Regions from separate parts of the Homo sapiens genome. Here region 1 is linked to region 2. Evidence: promoter capture Hi-C in 16 types of primary human blood cells and fetal thymus (Javierre and others, 2016). All regions are on one chromosome and are shown on one strand. Each heading gives the region's core, a stretch centred on a gene start or on the middle of the fragment in contact. The rest is flanking DNA. Distances are from core to core; before and after follow the strand shown. Region 1 has its middle 14 kb from the start of MAPRE2. Region 2 holds the start of SLC39A6 (solute carrier family 39 member 6).

Evidence for each region. Contacts are between HindIII fragments. The CHiCAGO score rates a contact against its expected background, and 5 or more counts as called.
Region 1: a contact is called between a fragment that was not itself captured here and the fragment with the promoter of SLC39A6 in region 2, in 1 of 17 cell types (naive CD8 T cells). The highest score is 5.5, in naive CD8 T cells.

What each region holds. Positions count from the first base shown.
Region 1 is chr18:35,024,129-35,030,122 of GRCh38, reverse strand. It overlaps a transcript of MAPRE2 not described here. Among named protein-coding and RNA genes, the nearest start is that of MAPRE2, 14 kb to the left of the region's middle. The HindIII fragment of the contact is 2,691 bases long and covers 484-3,174 here.
Region 2 is chr18:36,125,280-36,130,589 of GRCh38, reverse strand. SLC39A6 (solute carrier family 39 member 6) reads left to right here and starts at 1,250. Exons shown (of 10, transcript NM_012319.4): 1 at 1,250-1,476; 2 at 3,574-4,371. The coding sequence starts at 3,583. It overlaps ELP2 (elongator acetyltransferase complex subunit 2), which reads right to left and starts at 691. Exons shown (of 22, transcript NM_018255.4): 1 at 519-691. The coding sequence starts at 656. RefSeq lists enhancers at 440-649, 441-946, 810-999, 1,030-1,324, 947-1,452. The HindIII fragment of the contact is 4,684 bases long and covers 1-1,772 here.

The DNA.
Region 1 (5,994 bases), core at 580-3,079, 1.1 Mb after region 2:
GAAGAAATGCTAGGATTTGGTGTTAGCAGTATATGTGATTGATAGAGAAAAAAATAATTTTCTTGTCCTTATATAGTGATTAGCTATTTTATTTCTCAGTAAGCGTCAGCTAGCAATGTCCATTTCTTTGATACCTTCTGGAGGGAAAGGAAACTGCAGGCATTTTTTTGGTATTTGTATTCAAAGCTACAATCTGCTTTCATTTTCACTATGCCAAGACTGTTATAATTCAACCATCCAGATACAGACATGTCTATTTGAGTGCTCTCGTTAAAACGTGTCTATGTCCAATTTTATGAAATTCCTCTATTTCCTTTCTCTATTTTATTTCCATCTTAAAATAAAATGCATCTTGTTGAAGTGACTGCATAGGACAGCTAAAAGGGATTAAAAGGCACCTTGGGCTCAGTTGGGTGGCAAGAGAAATGAAGAGACTCCAAGTACTGCTAACAAATAAATTATCTTGCAGACGATTCAGAAGCTTCCCAGAGAAGATTTCCTTAGGGTTCTTAAAAATCAACTAACTCACTGGGCTTTATTTCTGACTTTGATATTAAAGAGTGCAAGCTGAGTGGCAACTCCTTAATATACATACAAAGGAAGTCAGGAGAAAGTGGGGCAATGGTCATTCCATCAGGTACCAGGGACTTCCAGAGTTCCAGAGCTACTCAGAACCCAGGCCATCAAGTGGCAACCAGGGACATTGGAAGGAAGCGTCTTCCTGAGCCTGGAACTTCTCTGTCAAGTCTGGTGTGTACCATGGCAGAGCTATGGCTTCTGGATGGCTCCTCGACAGCGTGTCAAGGGAACATGAGGCCGGCAGCTGGAAAGCAGTGTGAGTAATGGAAGAGAAATTCCTCATTTTCTGACCTCATCCAAATAAAATTTTTAAAAAGAAAATTAAAGCAGCTTATTTCATTAGGAAAAAAAATGCAACTGGAAATCATGAAGTAAGACTAAGTTTCCCATCAGAAATGTTTTAATTAGAGCTTATGTTTTGTTTCCTCAAGTGCTTAGACACCAAGCATCTTCCTATTCTCAATTCACATTGACTCAACATGTACAGAAAGTAGAAATGAAGGGTCCAACTGCATAGTGTAGCACATGAAAACATAATGGGCCTCCTTTAAGAAGCCTCCATTTAACTTCTACATAAAGGAATCAGCCCCCTAGGAAAACCAGAGGTCTTAGTCTTAATATGTGAGACATAATGAGTTAATAGTTAGCTGATAGATCTAGAATCAATGCTTGGAATGAACTTCTCTACACAGCCTGTCTTCACGCCATTCCCACCAGCCCACAATTCCAGTCTCACTGGGACAGATCCTATCTGCCTTCAATGATGCAATGAAATCATGAATGAGAAATAATGGCTTGCAGTATAAAGAGCATGCACAGTGAACATTATTTTGTTTGCTCCTCCCTCTTTCGGGAAATTATTTCTTCAATCCTTGTGGTTGTAGCAGAGCTTGCCAAATATAATTATTCCATCCTCCAGACCCTGAGGATTGATGCAGAGATAGGCCTATGACCCAAATCAGGTCATTTAGAATAGTTCTCTAGGTTTTTCTAAAATTAGAGCTGTAATGTGTATGTGTTTGGGGGGTTGGGGGATGTTATCTTCCTTATAAAAGTTAGTACTGGGGAATTAAGAAAATATAGTATACATTATATATTTACTATATTTTGCATAGAAGAATAGCAAAATTCAGAGTTCATGGTTTTGATGCATATGCTTTGGATTTGAATCCAAGTGCTTACAAGTTGTGTAACCTTGGCCAAATTACTTAACTCCTCTAGCTTCAGCTTCTTCACCCATAAAACAGGTATAATAAGATTTGTAAGGTAACATTTTGAGATATAAACCTAGGTTCCTGCCTTGCCCCTGTGGCCATAATTTTTTCTTACCCTTCCATTCTAGAGGTTGGATTTATTTCTCCTCCCTTTGAATCATGGTGGCAGCTTTGATCAATAGATTTTGGTAGAAATGATGCCGACCAGTTCTTGACCTAGACCTTACAATGACAGGCAGCTTTTGCCTTTGTCTCTTAAAGGTCAGCTGCCCTGTGAGAAGTTCAGCTACCCTGGGACTACCATGCTGCTCTGTAAGAAGGCAGGTCTGCTGCCCTGTGAGAAGTCTAGCTACTCTGGGGGAAGTACCAACCATGTAGAGAGGCCCAGAGGGTGGGACACATGGAGAGGGAGGGGAAGAGAGGAGAGACCACAAAGAGTACCAAGGCTCCAAATATGTGACTGAGGAAGCATCCTGCATCTTCACCCACCACAGCTGACACTATATGGATATATGGATTAGAAAGGACCCACCTAACCAAGACCTTCCTGAACTCCTGGTCCACAAAACCATAATGTAGGACAAATGGTTATTTTAAGTTAATAAGTTTTGTGGTAGGCTGTTATGCATTAACAGATAACAGAAAAACCCTGTTGGTTCTCTATTGTGACTCTAAACTTGGTGGATTAAAATAGCAATAATCATTTTATTATTATCTCTTGTCATTCTGGAGGTTGACTGGGCTTGGCTAGGTGGTTGTCACCCATGGTCTCTCATGTAGCTATGGTTGGAAGGTGACTGACTGCTGAAGTCTTCATAAAGGCTTCCTCAGTCTCATGACTGGTGGCTGACGTTGCCTTTTAATTGGGGCCTCAGCTGGGGCTCTGGTTGGAACACCTATGCAAGGCTTCCCCATGTGGCCTGGGCTCCTCACAGCATGGTGGCTGGGTTCCTAGCACAAGCATCCCTAATGAGCAGGCAGAAGGGCATGGCAGTTTTAAAACCTAGTCTTGGAAGTCACAGAGCATCACTTCCATTGTATTTTGCTGGTCAGGGCTGCCACAAAGTTCCACCCAGATTCAAGAGGAAGGGCTATCAACACCACTGGTAACATAACTAGGAGGAATGTCAATCTCACACTGCAAGAAAACCTGTGGGATGGGAGAGATTGTAGTAACCCACTTTGGAAAACCTGCCACACACACCTGCTGAACCTTCTTTACTCGCTGAGTTTTCAGCATGGGGCAGGAATGCAAGAGAGGAAGAAAAGAATGAATGTTCAACTTCGGAGTTTCAAAATCAACTTGTAAGCCCATGGCAGAGAAAAAACCCTGAAGAAATGTTTATGAGCCTCAGAGTCTCATTTTCAAGTATCAAAAGCTTAAGATCTTTCAAAGATTCAGAAACTAAAGTTCGTACTATAAGCCACAAGACTACATGACTGGTTAGAGATGTTGGGTTAGGAGCTGGTGAGTGTCCTTGAAGAGGGACTCTGCCTGCTCTCCTATCCCCAGCCATGCCCATGGGAATTTGAGAGTAGAGGGAACCTGTCCTCTGCTTTATATCTGGAAACTGAGGGATGCCAAAGCCACACAGAAGGTCCCTAGTCACCTTGGCACAGGAACAGCGGGGTACAGATGCAGGTAAACTGTTTAGGGCAACAGCAGTTTTTCCACAGAGCTAGCAAATATTTTTGGGGAGGGAGAAAGAACAAACCTGACCCCATGTGGTAGTGACAAACATCAACAGAAAAGAACAGGCCTCTGCAGACTGCGCCTGTTTTCATGGGGAGGGTTGCCATGGAAGCAACTAAAAAAAAAAAGTCAAATCTCCATTCAGGTTTCCAAAAGCACCTTGTAAAAATGTGAGACTGTGGTGTGGTGTCCATATTCATCGCTGCATTCTCTCACTTGCTGAATAAGCAGGTCAGAGGCATGCACAGAAATTAGGTTGCGGCCATTGGTTTAGACAATACACAGTACATTTAATGAGGAAGCTTCTCTCCTACTTGGCTCCCTCTCCAGATCTCCTGCTTGAGCTAAACTGATAGCCAGCACTTAGCTTTGAATCCTCAGAATGTTTTTCCCTCTCTACCCATCTGTCTGATTCAGACATCATACCTGTTCATTTCACAGGGGGACAGGTATGTCCTGCCCATTCCTCTCCCGCTGCTCACACCCTGCTTCAGACACGCTCCTTCCTCTCACCTACCTCATGAGTCTCTCTAGAGAGGTTTCCTTGCTTCACAATCAATTCACATCTCACCACCAGCTCTATCTTCCCTCCTTTCATTTTTAGAAGTCTTCAGGGGTTCCCTATCATTTCAAGACAAAAATTCTAAGTTTTTCTTTTGGCACTGTAAAACCTAACTACCTTTAGAAACTTATGCCCCACCGTGTATAGAAAGAGTAAGATTGAATTTGGTTTCGGCCTAACCTGGAATGTTAGTTTTGCCACCTGGTATCAGCATAAGCAAAGCTTCCTCTGTACTTGGTAAACAAAGAGAAGAACCTGTAAACATTCCTATTTGGAATCCTTCATAAATGCTCTTGGAAGAATCTATTACTACATCTGATTATTCCACTGGACTATGTTCAGTGGAACTGCTAGACTTCTAAGCTACTGTTTGAAAATAACTTCAGCTTGCTTTATTAAAAAACTACAGAGAGGACGGCAATTTAGTGAAATGAATTCTGATGATGTAAATGTTAACAGTATCCGAGTTGTTACCTCTGAGTCCCTGTCCTCCTAGGGTGAAGAGCACATAGAGTTGGGAACATTCAGCCACGACTGTCTCATCTTTATAACTGCTTTAATTACAATCGAGTACATCATTAAAGTCAGAATCACAATGTTTTAAGCTCATTAAAATATCAGCTAAAAAATTCATAGGGGATTATTGGCTGGAAGAAATGAAAAGTTATAGCATTGCTATTTCCTATTGATGGTTAGAACATGCAAAGATCCACAGAGGGTAAGTTTTGAGGCTGGATGACAAGCTCCAAAAAAAGTTTCTTTGGCCAGTCACTTACATTTGGACACAACAGGCTGAACAGCAGCTTCACATTCTGCACGCAAAACACTCAACTCTGGGTAAAGTAAATCATTCCACAAGTGGCCTCCTTCCACATTCACAGTACTTGAGAAGAGTTCCTGAAACTTGGACACAGTGCTGTGGAGCAGAGCCAAGAAACTTCACAGTGGTTATGAAACAGCTGCAAATCCATGCTTATGTCATGCTTTGTACAAATACTCTATAAAGGACACATTTGATCAAGAGTAGAAATATGGCTTTGCTAGTACTAATCAAGGTGAGAAGCTGGATTTCACTAAAAAGACTTCAGAATAACCCTCTAGTGTTTCCCAATTATATAATTCTAAAATTTATAGTTAACCTGTATTTTTTTATATTTTTCTCACTCACCCTCCAAGCAAATTCATCATTGTATTAATAGCTACTCACAACATGGAGAAAGAAAACAAGCAGCAACGAATTAAAGAATCAGTCCCCTCAGAGGTTAGCACTAGTTTATCTGACAAAAGAGAATGTCCTATAGCAATGAGAGATGTTGCCATCCTTAACATTGTCTATGATATAAAGGACAATACTAAATTTACTGAAAAGGTCTATTTCTAAATTCCCCTTGAATATCAGCCAGGCAAATGTAAGAACCAAATTTTTGCATGATTATAATTCTCTCCAAAATGGGAAATGAAGGTTAAATTAACTTTCAGATCCTGATCTGCAGATACTCGTAGTAAATTTTATTCATCTTCAGATTCTCTTCTTCATTTACTGAATAAAAGCAAGTTATATCGTTATCAATAGAACTGAAATAGGTTCATTTGCATAAAATGCTTTGTTCTACTTCATTCTGAAGAAAACAGCATTTATAGTCAAAAGGCTTTCAGCAACTATTGCAAAAGATACTTCATGAGTCAAGGATGCTGTCAGAGCATGAATAAAAGGGAGAGGGACACAGAGTTCATCATTTACAGAGGGGTTGGAGAAAATCTCTATTCCTCCTAGTTTCAAGTTAGGAGTTTAAAAACCTTTAGGAACGAGGACAAAGACCTGAAAGTTGCTAAAAATCCCAGCTCATGGTACCAGAACAAGATAGCTCCAGAACTCTGAGTGCTTCTAATGCAATAACACTTGGGCACTTTCCCCCTGCTACAAACCAAATCATTGAAAGGTGTCT
Region 2 (5,310 bases), core at 1-2,500:
TCCCCTATGACCTTTCCCCCAAACTGACACTTTCTCTAAAATGTCCATTCCCGTAGCTAAAACACAGGTAACATTTCCTTGAAATTCAATACAACAAAAGTTCATTAACCAAAACTGAAGGAAATACTGAAATGAGATTGCACCTGTGGGATGATGGTTTTAATCTACATATAAATTTCAATTGTTTTAAAACCCAAATTGATTAACGGTACTACAGTTCCCAAGGAAGGCTTCAGGTAAGATGCTTATCATTCGGGTTTCTGCGTGGGACTAACAGGTTACTAGCAGCTCATGGGCAGCAATGACCCTAGGATGACGCCACGCGTGAGACGGCAAAGGGTGAGGGGTGAGGAGCGAGTCCGGCAGGTCCACTGGAGACTCCGAGCCCAAACCCCGCTCCCCTGAGCCGACCCGACTCGCCTCCTAGGTCTGGGGCGGCAACTAACAGCGCGCCCGGAGCACGTCCACAGGTTCAACCCGAAAAGCACAAGGGTCGGCCGTCCAGCGACCTCTCTTACCAGGGGGTCATAGAGCACCACGGAGCAGGACGTGCCAAAGGCCAGAAGTCCTCTGGGCCCAGAGCTCCAGTTCAGGACTCCCCGCACCCGGTTTGGGCAGCAAAACACGTGAGAAGTCTCCAGCACGGGTGCCACCATGTCGCCAACTGGTCAGCCGCACAAACAAGAGACGCGCACTTCCGCCCTCGGAGCGGAACTACTAGGGTGGTTTCTCCTGAGGCATCACCCAGTCCACGTTTCGCAGCCAGCCGAGGGCCAGACGGAGGCAGCCCCGCCCCCCTGAGACTCTCCGTTCCCACCGCAGGCTGGAACCCCTGTGCAAGGCCGCCGCTTTGCTAGCTCTGCTCTTGGACCGTGGCCCCGCTCCGCGAACGAGCCAGGCCTTTGTCTCAAGAGCGAAATCCGACCCGAGTGGCTCGGGACCCTCCCGAAGGACCCGGGGCTCATGTGCCTGGGGCAGCGTCAGAAACATCTCGCTGCCCCTTACGACCCGGCTCCCAGCAGCAGCCAGGGCTGGCCCCGGGGGCGCTGGCTAGCGAGTAGGGCCTCGAGGAAATGACCCCCAACTGCTTACAATGCGCTAGGGCCGCGCCACGCCCCCGCGGCGTCGGCGAACACACGGAAAAGCGGATCCGTCTGCGGAGCCGGGTTCCGGGGTCGCACTGCGCATGCCCTGCAGTCCTGGGCGAAGGGGGCGGTGGTTCCCCGCGGCGCTGCGCGCGGCGGTAATTAGTGATTGTCTTCCAGCTTCGCGAAGGCTAGGGGCGCGGCTGCCGGGTGGCTGCGCGGCGCTGCCCCCGGACCGAGGGGCAGCCAACCCAATGAAACCACCGCGTGTTCGCGCCTGGTAGAGATTTCTCGAAGACACCAGTGGGCCCGTTCCGAGCCCTCTGGACCGCCCGTGTGGAACCAAACCTGCGCGCGTGGCCGGGCCGTGGGACAACGAGGCCGCGGAGACGTGAGTCTTTCAGGTCCGGGAGCAGGGCGGCTGGGAGGGGAGCTCCTCAGGCCAGACAGGCGTGGCGGGGTAGGGGTGGTTCTGCGGAGAACCGGATCCTGCGGACCGGGCAGGGGGGCTACAGAAAGAGGATGCTGGGGGGAGCCCGCCGCAGGCGCCCACTCACCCTAGAGAGCCGGACTTCTTAAGGTGCTCAGATGGGCTTCGGGGTGCAACGGAGGATTTTTTGAGGAAAAGATCCGTACTTTTCATCCCATATTCGAAGAAGGGACTGACGTGTTTAGAAATAAAAAGCTTTTAGAAGAGAGCTTTGTGCCCTCTTTTCCGTTTTCTGTACTCGCCTTTTTCTCTAAGGCCCTTCCCTTCTGCTTTCCTTTTTCCTCCAGCACACACCAACTTGCAGGAAAGGAGATCCTTCAACGGGTCCACGACCGCGCTCAGCATCCTCCCTGGAGAAAGGCTCGGAGCTGTCCCCTGTGCTAGTCCCCTCCCACCCCGCTCCTCGCCTCTCTCCTGGGAATGATTTCTAAATGTTTATCTTTTACCTAGTAAAAGAATTCCCGAAACTTCAAGCCCCAAAGATTCCTCTTTCAGGAGCCTCGTTCTACGCCGTACCTCCATTTCCCACTGTTCCCTGTATGATACCTCGCACTTGTGCAACACATGAGTTTAACGAGTACTTGTAATATACATTCCTTCATGTGTTTTCCTCCTTCGCCTTGCAAAATAGGTTTTACCGGTATTTTAGATAAGGTAATGAATGCGAGAGCCCTGTCCAAAGAACAGCTGACCGTGGTAGAGCTGGATAGCCCCATGCTCTTGCTTAGTTGTAAACTTGACGTCTGCGTCTTTTGCTGGAGATGTGAGTTTGACCACCATCACCTCCACCGTTGGTGCTGGACATCCTGCTGGATCTGAATTAACTGAATTCTGGCTCTGCTTAACTGAATTCTGCTTTTCAAGCTCCAACTCAATTGCTTCCTCCTCTTTGGGGCACAGGCCTTTGGTTCCAAACACTACTGTGGATGATTAACAGCCTGTGATTAAATGTTGACTGGTTTGTAGTAACACAAGGATGCTACAGTGAGTTTTTCATGAAGTTCAGTTTACTTTAAGAATTCTATGTATGGACATAATGTGTCTGATTCATTGTCAAGTCGGAAAAAAGATTCAATGTGTATTTAAAGTATACACTTATTTGAGGCTGGGCGTAGTGGTCACGCCTGTAATCCCAGCACTTTGGGAATTGGAGGTGGAGGATCTCTTGAGGCCAGGAGTTCAAGACCAACCCGGACAACATAGTGAGACCTCGTCTCTAGAAAAAAAAAAAAAAAACTTTAAAAAAAAAATTAAGTATACATGTATTTGAGTATGCATAGAAAATATCCTGAGGGATACACTGGCAAAATTGAGCACCTTTGAGGATTGTGATTGGGGAAAGGGGTCTTAAATGGGCTTGTATGTAAGGAGAGTGTATTAGTTTAAAATTTTTTAAATATGTGAATTCTGAGATTATTATTTCTATTTTTTGGTGTTTGAAGGTTATTTTATGAAATGATGGTGATGATCAAGGTAGCTAGATTTCATTTCGTTCTTTTTTTTTTTTGAGACAGGGTTTCACAATGTTGCCCAGGCTGGTCACAAACTCCTGGCCTCAGGTGATCTGCCTGCCTCAGCCTCCCAAAGTGCTGGGATTATAGGCATGAGCCACCACACCCAGCCTAGATTTAATTATGAATCATTGGCCTCAATGATTCAAATAATCGTTCAAATAAATTCTCAACTTCAGTAAGCAGTTGATGGCTGTGGCCACATGGATCTCCCTTGTCTCTGAATTACTATTGCTTTTACAGTGCTAATGGCAGTCTCTTAGCACTCAGCTCTTCTCCAGTTGTTTCATGTGTTTTAGGAATGCAAGGGTAGAGCCTAGGACTCTAGTTCTTTCCATCTTCACAGTACCTAGCGTCACACTGGTCACACCACATGATGCTCTGGCAACTTTGATTATTTGATTACACATTAATTTTCAGTATGAGGTTTCTTAATTCAATTTGTTTTAGAAGTGAGTCAAGAATTTTTTTTTCCTGTCTTTTCTAGGAAGGCGCAATGGCGAGGAAGTTATCTGTAATCTTGATCCTGACCTTTGCCCTCTCTGTCACAAATCCCCTTCATGAACTAAAAGCAGCTGCTTTCCCCCAGACCACTGAGAAAATTAGTCCGAATTGGGAATCTGGCATTAATGTTGACTTGGCAATTTCCACACGGCAATATCATCTACAACAGCTTTTCTACCGCTATGGAGAAAATAATTCTTTGTCAGTTGAAGGGTTCAGAAAATTACTTCAAAATATAGGCATAGATAAGATTAAAAGAATCCATATACACCATGACCACGACCATCACTCAGACCACGAGCATCACTCAGACCATGAGCGTCACTCAGACCATGAGCATCACTCAGAGCACGAGCATCACTCTGACCATGATCATCACTCTCACCATAATCATGCTGCTTCTGGTAAAAATAAGCGAAAAGCTCTTTGCCCAGACCATGACTCAGATAGTTCAGGTAAAGATCCTAGAAACAGCCAGGGGAAAGGAGCTCACCGACCAGAACATGCCAGTGGTAGAAGGAATGTCAAGGACAGTGTTAGTGCTAGTGAAGTGACCTCAACTGTGTACAACACTGTCTCTGAAGGAACTCACTTTCTAGAGACAATAGAGACTCCAAGACCTGGAAAACTCTTCCCCAAAGATGTAAGCAGCTCCACTCCACCCAGTGTCACATCAAAGAGCCGGGTGAGCCGGCTGGCTGGTAGGAAAACAAATGAATCTGTGAGTGAGCCCCGAAAAGGCTTTATGTATTCCAGAAACACAAATGAAAATCCTCAGGAGGTAAGATGAGTGCTGTTCATTATTTTAATATACCTGTGTGTCTGTCCTGTCTCTGCTACTCTATCTCTAGTTATGAGGAGTTTAAAGTAAAAGTAAAATGTTGAAGTTATTGAAAAGGGAATTTCCACCTTCTCAGCAAGGCACTTGCCACAAAGCATGCCTGCTATGTTGTAAACATTCCCAATTCAGAACTTAGGGAACAGTTCTTTTGGTGAGCGTAGTGCTGCCTCCTACAATTTTTTCTAATACAGAATATAAAATATGTAGAGAAAGATATCAAGGCTATCTTTAGAGAAAGTCTATAAAGGTGAACATTATTAATAAAAAATAGAAAATGAGGGGTTGAAAGCAGGAGTTAGAATCCATATTGTAGGGAAAGGTGTGACTGAAGGGGCTGAAGACTACTGAGAATACCACTGCTGCCTCCTTGACAGAAGGTCCACCATGACTTGAGGAATGATTGAAATTGGAGCAGTTTCCATGAATGTCATGCTGGACAAGGGAAAAGTTGGGACAGTGAGGTTCTGAGTTCATGTGGTTTTTCTAGAGTAGACTTCCAGACTGTACGTAATTCACCTTGGCTGAGAGATGTCAAGAACAGGGAATTATGTCAAAAAAAAAAGGAACAAGGAATTAGTTGATACAGTTTAATAAGCAAAACTTTAGTACTTCATTCAAACCAGCATGTGACTGTACTAATTCTGGACTAATCCTAGTAGTGGCCATAGCCATAGCAGCCCTGGTGATAAAGTTTGCTCTGAGTTGTACCAACTGAGAATTGTGGTGGGAGTTGAAAATGTCTTTACAGAAGATGAGAAACTGGTACTAAAGCCAGTTTGGGGTTTTTTTGTTGTTTTTTTTTTTTTTTCTTTTTTGGCTGGGGGAGAGATTGCACAGAGGAGTATCTTCAAACTAAGTTTGTCATCTAATTAAATAGTT